Linked DNA regions of Homo sapiens: region 1 is linked to region 2. Evidence: promoter capture Hi-C in human tissues and cell types (Jung and others, 2019). All regions are on one chromosome and are shown on one strand. The core of a region is centred on a gene start or on the middle of the fragment in contact, and the rest is flanking DNA. Distances in the headings are between cores, read along the strand shown. Region 1 holds the start of ZNRF4 (zinc and ring finger 4). Region 2 holds the start of PLIN3 (perilipin 3).

Region 1 (4,092 bases), core at 820-3,319, 590 kb before region 2:
CACCACCACGCCCAGCTCATTTTTGTAGTTTTTAGTAGAGACAGGGTTTCACCATGTTGGCCAGGATGGTCTTGATCTCCTGACCTCATGATCCGCCCGCCTTGGCTTCTTAAAGTGCTGGGATTACAGGCGTAAGCCACTACGCCCGGCCTAAGAAAATTTTTTTGTAGAGGTGGGGTCTTGTTATGTTGCCCAGGCTGGTCTCAAACCTCTAACCTTGAGCGAACCTCCCACCTCGGCCTCCCATCCCATCACACCTGGGATCCCATGAGACATAAGAGGAAACGGAGTAAAAGGGGTTGGAGAACTCTATGGCACCTTTGCAACTTTTCTGGAAATCTAAACCAGTTCCAAAATAAAACGTTTATTTTAAAAGAAAAAATGTGAATGAAGAATAAGGCCATCCAGGATGAGTGACCCGTGTGCCCGGGACTGGAACCAAAGCACAGACGACCCGTCTCAAAGCCACTCCGGCACCACGGTCACAGCCGCCCCAAAAAGGCCCCCCAGCCCTCACCACCCCTCGCTCTCCCGCCCGCAGAAACGGGGATTGGCCTTAGGCTTGATGGGGATGGGTGTCCCCCAACCCCAGTCAGAGGCGGGTGGCCCAACAGCAGCGAGGCTGAGAATCCGCTTTCAAACCCACTTTATTCTTTTCAGACCAGAAACATTCCTCATTGCACCCCCCTCCCTGCCCTAGATCTTTACTGACCAGGGGCCTCAGGAGGGGCTGAGGAGACAGTGGTATACTCTGCCTCCAGGGACGTGGTGCTGCAGTGGCAGTGGGGACTGGCGCGGCCCAGCAGCTCCAGCCTCCGGGAGCGTAGCTGGACTTGAATGGCCCAGATGGGGGGCCGGTGGCCCGGTAGGGAGGGGTCCTCGTCCCTGAAGCTGTAGGTGGTGGAGTCAAAGCTGTCTTCTGTGGCGGCCACCGACTGTTTGCACACGGGGCAGGAGCGCCGGGGGGCTTGGGAGAACCAGGGGTCAATGCATTTGCAGTGGTAGGTGTGGGAGCAGGGCAGGATCTTGAGTTGGTCGCCCTCCTCATACTCATCCAGGCAGATGGCACACAGGTCGTTGTGCCACGTGAAGGTGCGGACCTGGGCCTTCTGGCAGGTAGACGTCTTCACCGGCCGTCTGTGGCTGCAGCAGGCCTGGGCCCAGAGCCACAGGTGGTTCAGGACAAAGAAGGCTGATACGACCAGGGCCAGGGTACAGCCCAGCACCCAGGACACGGTCAGCACGGGGTGACAGCCCAGGTCGTGGCACGGTGGGTCGTCGGGCAGGAGCAGCGCGTGGGCCGACTTGTTGCAGCCCAGGATGACCCGCAGGTCCTGCGAGGCGGCCTCGCTCACGAACACTGAGGGGATGGCGATCTGGCCCCTCAAGTCCTCGTAGACGTGGGTCATGCTCACGAGGTCGTCGGAGTGGACGTTGTGCACGATGGCCGCCTCGAAGCCGGCGCGCTGGGCGTTCAGCACCTTGAGGTCGAAGGTGCAGTCGTAGCGGCGGATCAGCACGATGGCGCCCAGAGAGCGGTTGCCCAGTCGCGGGGCCTCGATGGGATGGCACGCGTTGGCTGGCTTGACCTCCATCAGGTAGCCCCGTATGCCCTCGGGGGCCAGGGGGACGCCGAACAGCGCCGGCAGATCCGCAAAGTCCACCGAGCTCGAGTTGTCTTCCAGCACGGCCCGTACCACTGCCTGCGCGGGCACCTGGAGCAGCGACAAGACCAGCAAGGCTTTGACTGCCACGAGGGCTCGGCCCGGCCGTGGCCACCCCATGGTCACCCGCTTCGCTGTCTGTGTGCTGCTAGGTCCCACTGGAGGCGGCAGGCATGAGGCCTTTGGGCATCTCCGGGGTCTCCCAGGGGGCCTGTGGCCAGGACGCGAGGGCAGTTGAGTTGGAATGACCGCGTGGCTCAGAGGCAGTGACGCGGCCACTGGGACCCTGCTGGCTCTAGGCATTAAGTGCTCCGGACGGCAGAGCGGCATGCGTCGTGTCTTTGAAGGCCGGTCTCAGGAGGTGCTGGCGCAGGTGGCCTTTCTGGCAGATGACATGGAGACCAGGAGTCACCAGGGTTCTAGATGCCCCCAGCTTCTGTGACATCGCCCTGCTACATTCTGTCCCAGGAGCTGCCAGCTGCCTGGGCCTGTGGCCAATGGATCATTCCTAGGTCTGTGATTTGCCGGTACCCGGGCAAGCTTTGAGATAACTTCTTGAAGGCTCAGGGTATCTTTGGACCCAAGGAGGCCCAGGGATGCTTCAAAAGGGCTGCCGGCCCCCAGCAGTGCAGATTCAGCCCTCACTGTGCGAAGACGCTACCAGCATCAGCTTCTGGAGGTTCCTAGCAACACACTGTAGAAGGTTCAATGTTACCCTTGTCTGAGACTCCAAGAGTGACCCAGACTTGTTCAAGCCACGCCCCCCTACAATGAGATCAGTGCTTAAAACCCAAATTCCTGACCCCCTGTCACCATCCCTCACTCTGCTCCAGCCACACAGATCTCCTTGCTGTTCCTCCAACACACCAGGCAGGATCCTGCCCCAGGGCCTTTGCATGGGCTGGGCCTCCTGCCTGGAAAGCCCTTTCTCTCCGTAGCTGGCTCTTTTATCCGGACTCAGGTCTGAGTCCATATATCCTCAGAGCCCTCCTGGACTTGATTTGGAGGGAGAGTCAAGTGCCAGGGTCAGGGTGGGGCTGGTGGGGGTCAGTGGTCCCAAGTCCGCACCGCCAGGTTGGCCTCCAGGCTTGCACCAGCTTCATTCTCTCTCCCTATAGCATTGCCTCTCCAGCTGGGTCTCCAACTGTGCCCCCTGCCTGAGCTTCAGCCCTGGGCATCAGCCTCACCTCCTCCCCAGTCCCCATCCCCCAAATTTCACACCCTCAATCTGTCTGCAGCCCACTCAAGTCGGATTTCTGTCTCTGCCATTCATAAGCTGTATGACATCAGCTAAATTCCTTAGCCTCTCTGGGCCTCAGCTTCCAGACCTGTAACATAGTCTTTCCCATGCTCTAAACTCTCCCATGGCTCCCCATTGCCCTCCAGATAAAGCCCACACTCTTCTCTGTGGCCTACATGCACCCCTGTGGTTGGGCGCCTGCCAATCTCTGAAGCCTGGATGATTTGCAATGTCCCAGAGGCATCTTGCTTTGTTCACCTCTAGAATTTTGCAAATGCTGTTCCCTCTGCCTGGAACAGAATTCTTGCTCCTCAACTTCACTTTGCCAGGCTGACTACTTAGTCTTTAGATTTTCTGTGTTGGCCTAATACCTCTCAGAGCAGCCCTCAGCCAGTGACAGATGGGAGGTGGTAGATAAATGCCCCCACTCCCTCGTCCCTCTTATGGGACAAATCGAAGTATGTTCTACCATATCTCCTAGAGGTCCCCAGTCGAATGAGCTCCATAAGTCAACGAACCCAGTACTGTCTTGTCAATGAGCCCGCTACTGTCTCCTTCCCTTCCCCACCCACTTCTCTCCCCTCCCACAGCTTCTGAGATCACCTCCCACACAAATCTCTTGTACCATGTAGTGGGTGGGCCCCAAATAGAGATGTTGAACCCCTAACCCCTGGTTCTGACCAACCCCTGTGAATGGACCTTATTTGGAAATAAGATCTTTGCAGAGGTTTTCCTTCTAAGAAAGGGAGAAAAGGCCGGGCATGGTGGCTCATGTCCGTAATCCTAGCACTTTAGGAGCCCGAGGCGGGCAGATCAGTTGAGGCCACGAGCACATGCTGCCATGCCCGGCTAATTTTTGTATCTTAATAGAAACGGGGGTTTTGCTAGGTTGCCCAGGCTTGTCTCGAACTCCTGACCTCAAGTGATCTGCCAGTCTCAGCCTCCCAAAGTGCTGGGGTTACATTTGTGAGCCACCATGCCCGGCCCCTGGTGGCACTCCTGCCCCTGCTCTGTCTACTGCCACAGACGGAGGCCACACTATCTAGAGGCCACTGCCTTGGCCACTGTGGATGGCCCTTGCAGCCCAGTGCTACCAAGCAGAGGCAGGTTTTTCAGTCCAGCAGGCATGAGAGGAGGCAAGAGTGGAAAAACAGAAGCAGAGAGGGACAAATGTAGCGGTCAGGCTCG
Region 2 (3,957 bases), core at 1,248-3,747:
GTTCCCTCCTGGCCTCTCTCTCTTCTCTTCTTGGATGTCACTCAGAAAGGCCTCCTCTGACCTCCCTACTAAAAACTGCGGCCCCACCGGGTGTGGTGGCTCATGCCTATAACCCAGCACCTTGAGAGGCCAGGGCTGGTGGATCACATGAGGTCAGGAGTTCGAGACCAGCCTGGCCAACATGGTGAAGCCCCGTCTCTACTAAAAAAAAAAAAAATACAAAAATTGGCCAGGCATGGTGGCACAGGCCTGTAATCCCAGCCACTTGGGAGGTCGAGGAACAAGAATTTCTTGAACCTGGGAGGCGGAGGTTGCAGTGAGCCGAGATCGTGCCACTGCACTCCAGCCTGGGTGACAGAGTGAGACTCTTTGACAAAAAACAAGAACAAAATCCCCGCATCCCCCACATTCATCTCGTCCTTTGCTGTCCTACCACGTGACACATTGTAAAGTTCTCTCACTTATGTTGTTCCTTGTTCGTCTCTCCCACTGGGTAGTGTGTGTCACCAGGGCTGGAATTCTTATCTGTTTAGCTCACCGCTGTCCCCAGCGCAAGGACTCAATAAATATGGTTGAATGAGTGAATGAGAAGGAAAAAGCCTGTTACAAATGTCATGGAATGGGGTCTCAGATTCACTTGAGAATCTCACTAGCTGCCTGAAGTTACTTAAATTTAAACATTCAGGCCAAGCGCGGTAGCTCACACCTGTAATCCCAGCACTTTAGGAGGCCGAGGCAGGTGGATCACTTGAGGCCAGGAGTTCGAGACCAGCCTGGCCAATATGGTTAGTCCTCGTCTCTACTAAAAATACAAAAATTAGCTGGGTGTGGTGGCGCGCGCCTGTAATCCCAGCTACTTGGGAGGCTGAGGCAGGAGAACCGCTTGAACCCGGGAGGTGGAGGTTGTAGTGAGTCGAGATCGCGCCATTGCACTCCAGCCTGGGAGACAGAGCGAGACTCTGCCTCAAAAAAAAAAAAAAAATTTAAACATTCAGCTTCTCACTGTGCATTAGCCACGTGGTGCTTTTGGCTACAATGTTGGATGGCACACAATTCTAGAATTGCAGAAAGTTCTATTGGACAGTGCTAGCATAGACCCTGTCCCCACTCACCCCCCCAAAAAAATGCAGTCACAGACACCCAATTTTTCCCATGTTCTTTCTAAAGCTACCAGAAGCTTCATTCTATTCAAATAATTTGGCAGAGGTGGCAAACTGGTGGCCCCTGGGCTGGACAAAGCCCCAGTTGGGTTTCATTTGGTCCAATTGTTCCCTAACAGGCAGGACATGTCTACAGCTTGAACTTCCTGTGGATCTGTGACTCTCCAGGTGGGTCTCCCATAGGGCACTGCTCTCCCCTGCCCCTCTAAGCAGGGCATCACTGCCACCTCCTCAGCAGAAATATTCACCTCCTCCCTGGACCATCTGAGATTGAGACCTTGGTTTATAGACCAAGAGGATAAATAATTTGGGAGGTGGAGAGGGGCGGGGTAAAATCCAAGTGGGGGCAGCTTCAGGAAAAGGTTGATCCAGCAGTCACAGAGCCTGGAGCCTGACCCCTCCATTGCCCCTGGCTGACCCTCTCCAGGCCTCAGTTTCCTTCTCTGCAAAATAGGGATGATTAAAAAGACAATACAGTGCTGGGAGGATGAAGTGGTCTGATGTTGGGCAGATCAGGCCGGAGGCTGGACAAGTTCCCGTGGTGGTTCAAGTCACTCATATAGCTGGGTTGGGCCGGGTGCGGTGGCTCATACCTGTGATCCCAGCAATTTGGGAGGCCCAAGCGGGCAGATCACTTGAGGTCAGGAGTTCAAGACCAACATGGTGAAACCCCGTCTCTGCTAAAAATACAAAAAATTAGCCGGGCGTGGTGGCACGTGTCTGTAATCCCAGCTACTCAGGAGGCTGAGGCAGGAGAATCGCTTGAATCCAGGAGGTGGAGGCTGCAGTGAGCCAAGGTCGCGTCACTGCACTCCAGCCTTAGCGACAGAGCGAGACTGTGTCTCAAAAAAAAAAAAAAAGTGTGTGTGTGTGTGTGTGTGTGTGTGTGTACATATAGCTGAGTCGGAGCCCATGGTGGAGGGCGTGGCCCCTGACGCGCTGGCGAGGGTCACCCTGCAACTCTCCCAGGGTTCTCGCAGCCTCAGTTTGGCCATAGGGGAAATGGGCGACCTGGGGAATCCCAGCACCTGTGCGGCGCCCCCGATCGCACTCACCTCCCAGGGCCAACTTCACAGGGTCCCCAGCTGCGGAGCGGGGGTCCCGTGGCTGGGACAGGCGTGGTCCAAGAGTGCTCCCTCCCCTTCAGGGGCAGGGCGTGGAGTCCTTCCCGGACTTCATGACTTGGCGAGGGGCGGGGCCTAGTGGAGGCGGGGCAGGGAGGAGAGGGGCGGGCCTGGCGCGGGCAATCCCTCAACCTGATTGGTCCCCTCGCCCGTCACTCCAGTGCGCCCCCAACCTACCACGCAGTAAAAGCCACCCCCGCCTCGGCCCGGACGGTTTCCAAGCTGGTTTTGAAGTCGCGGCAGCTGTTCCTGGGACGTCCGGTTGACCGCGGTGAGTGGCGGGGGCGTCTCAGTTGAGCTGGGGGGCGGTGTCCATGGAGTCCTGGGGCACCCCAGGGGCCGGAGGGGTCGGGGAGGGCCTTTCTCGGGGTGGGATTTGCTGGACTCTGCGGCCTGGGGAGGGGTCTTCAGCCCAGGCTGGTCACCCCTCCCCCCAGAAAAATCCAACTTCTGCAACGAAGCTCAGACTTTGAAACCCTCTTCTCACTTCCTGGGACTTTTGAGGGGCGAAAGAGCCCCGTAGAAGGGGTGATATTGAAGGGGGTGGGCTAAATACCGCCCCCCGCCCACCAGGTTTTCTCTAAATTTTGAACAGTTTGCTTTTGGAAACGCCATTTGCAGGCAAGTTTCCTCCTGCGGGCAGAATCTCCGCCCTCCCTTCTGGGGTTTTCAGAGACACCCCCCGCCACCGCAAAGCCCCCTCCCCTACAGATGGTTTTGCCACGGGTGGGGGTGGGGGTTGCCCCAGCTCCTGGCGCCCCCAACTGATTCTGGGGAGGTCTTGGGCAAAGCCTGCCCACTTCCCTCGGGTGGGCGTGGCGACGAGGTGGCTTAAAAGTAGGAAGGCCTATCCGTTAACTGCTTTGGGGTTCTTGTCCCGGCTAGGCCTGGCAGTGGGACCTGGGGCCCTTGGAATTTTGGAAGTCCAGTCTTAGCATGCTCTGAAGTTGCTGGATGGCTGGGTCTGGCCTGGAGCTCCCCTTCTGGAGCCAGCGGCAAGGCAGGTCACTGACCCCCAGGGGTTTCATAGGGTGTTGACATCTGCCATGGCCACCCTTGCTTAAACCAGTTCCAGGAAGTCATGGTGGACAGAGGGGACGGGAGGAAGCTGCCTGAGTCCTAAGTGGGACTTGAGAATCGGTCGAGGCCAGGAGTTTGATGCCTGCCTACCTGGCCCCCTGCCCAGGTGAGCTCAGGCTCCAAAGGAGGTGAGGAGAAGCACAGATTTAGGCAATGATCACTGGGAGGTAGGTATGTCTTCTCACCTGACTTCCCAGTTGGGGGACTTTTGTACCTAGCAGGAAGCTGGTTCCTGGCTGGCTTTACCCCTTTGTCCGTGGAAGCCAGAGTGCGGTGAGATAGTTTATGGAGCACTTACTATGTGCCGGGCACGGATCTGAGCTTCCCCGGAGCAGCGTCTCCTCCAGTCCACAGGGACTCCAGGCTCTTGTGAAACACTTATACACATTTCACAGATGTGGCAAGCAAGACTCCTAGGGGATGCTGCCTTCCCAAACTCCTATTCCTAGTGAGTTGCCAAGCTGGGATTAGAACCCATTCTGGGCTGGGCAGGATGACTCACGCCTATAATCCCAGCACTTTGGGAGGCTGAGGTGGGCGGATCATTTGAGGTCAGGAGTTGGAGAACAGCCTGGCCAACATGGTGAAACCCC

The links. Contacts are between HindIII fragments. The study calls those that stand out against the background at their distance.
Region 1: the fragment with the promoter of ZNRF4 here is called in contact with the fragment with the promoter of PLIN3 in region 2 in 4 of the 25 tissues and cell types used here (IMR-90 fibroblasts, dorsolateral prefrontal cortex, heart right ventricle and 1 more).

The regions. Positions count from the first base shown.
Region 1 is chr19:5,453,394-5,457,485 of GRCh38, reverse strand. It overlaps ZNRF4 (zinc and ring finger 4), which reads right to left and starts at 2,069. Exons shown (of 1, transcript NM_181710.4): 1 at 630-2,069. The coding sequence starts at 1,994. The coding sequence ends at 705. The HindIII fragment of the contact is 14,927 bases long and covers 1-3,323 here.
Region 2 is chr19:4,866,207-4,870,163 of GRCh38, reverse strand. It overlaps PLIN3 (perilipin 3), which reads left to right and starts at 2,497. Exons shown (of 8, transcript NM_005817.5): 1 at 2,497-2,555. RefSeq lists a cis regulatory region at 1-83, a silencer at 2,340-2,519 and enhancers at 2,737-3,237, 3,180-3,529. The HindIII fragment of the contact is 15,856 bases long and covers 1-3,957 here.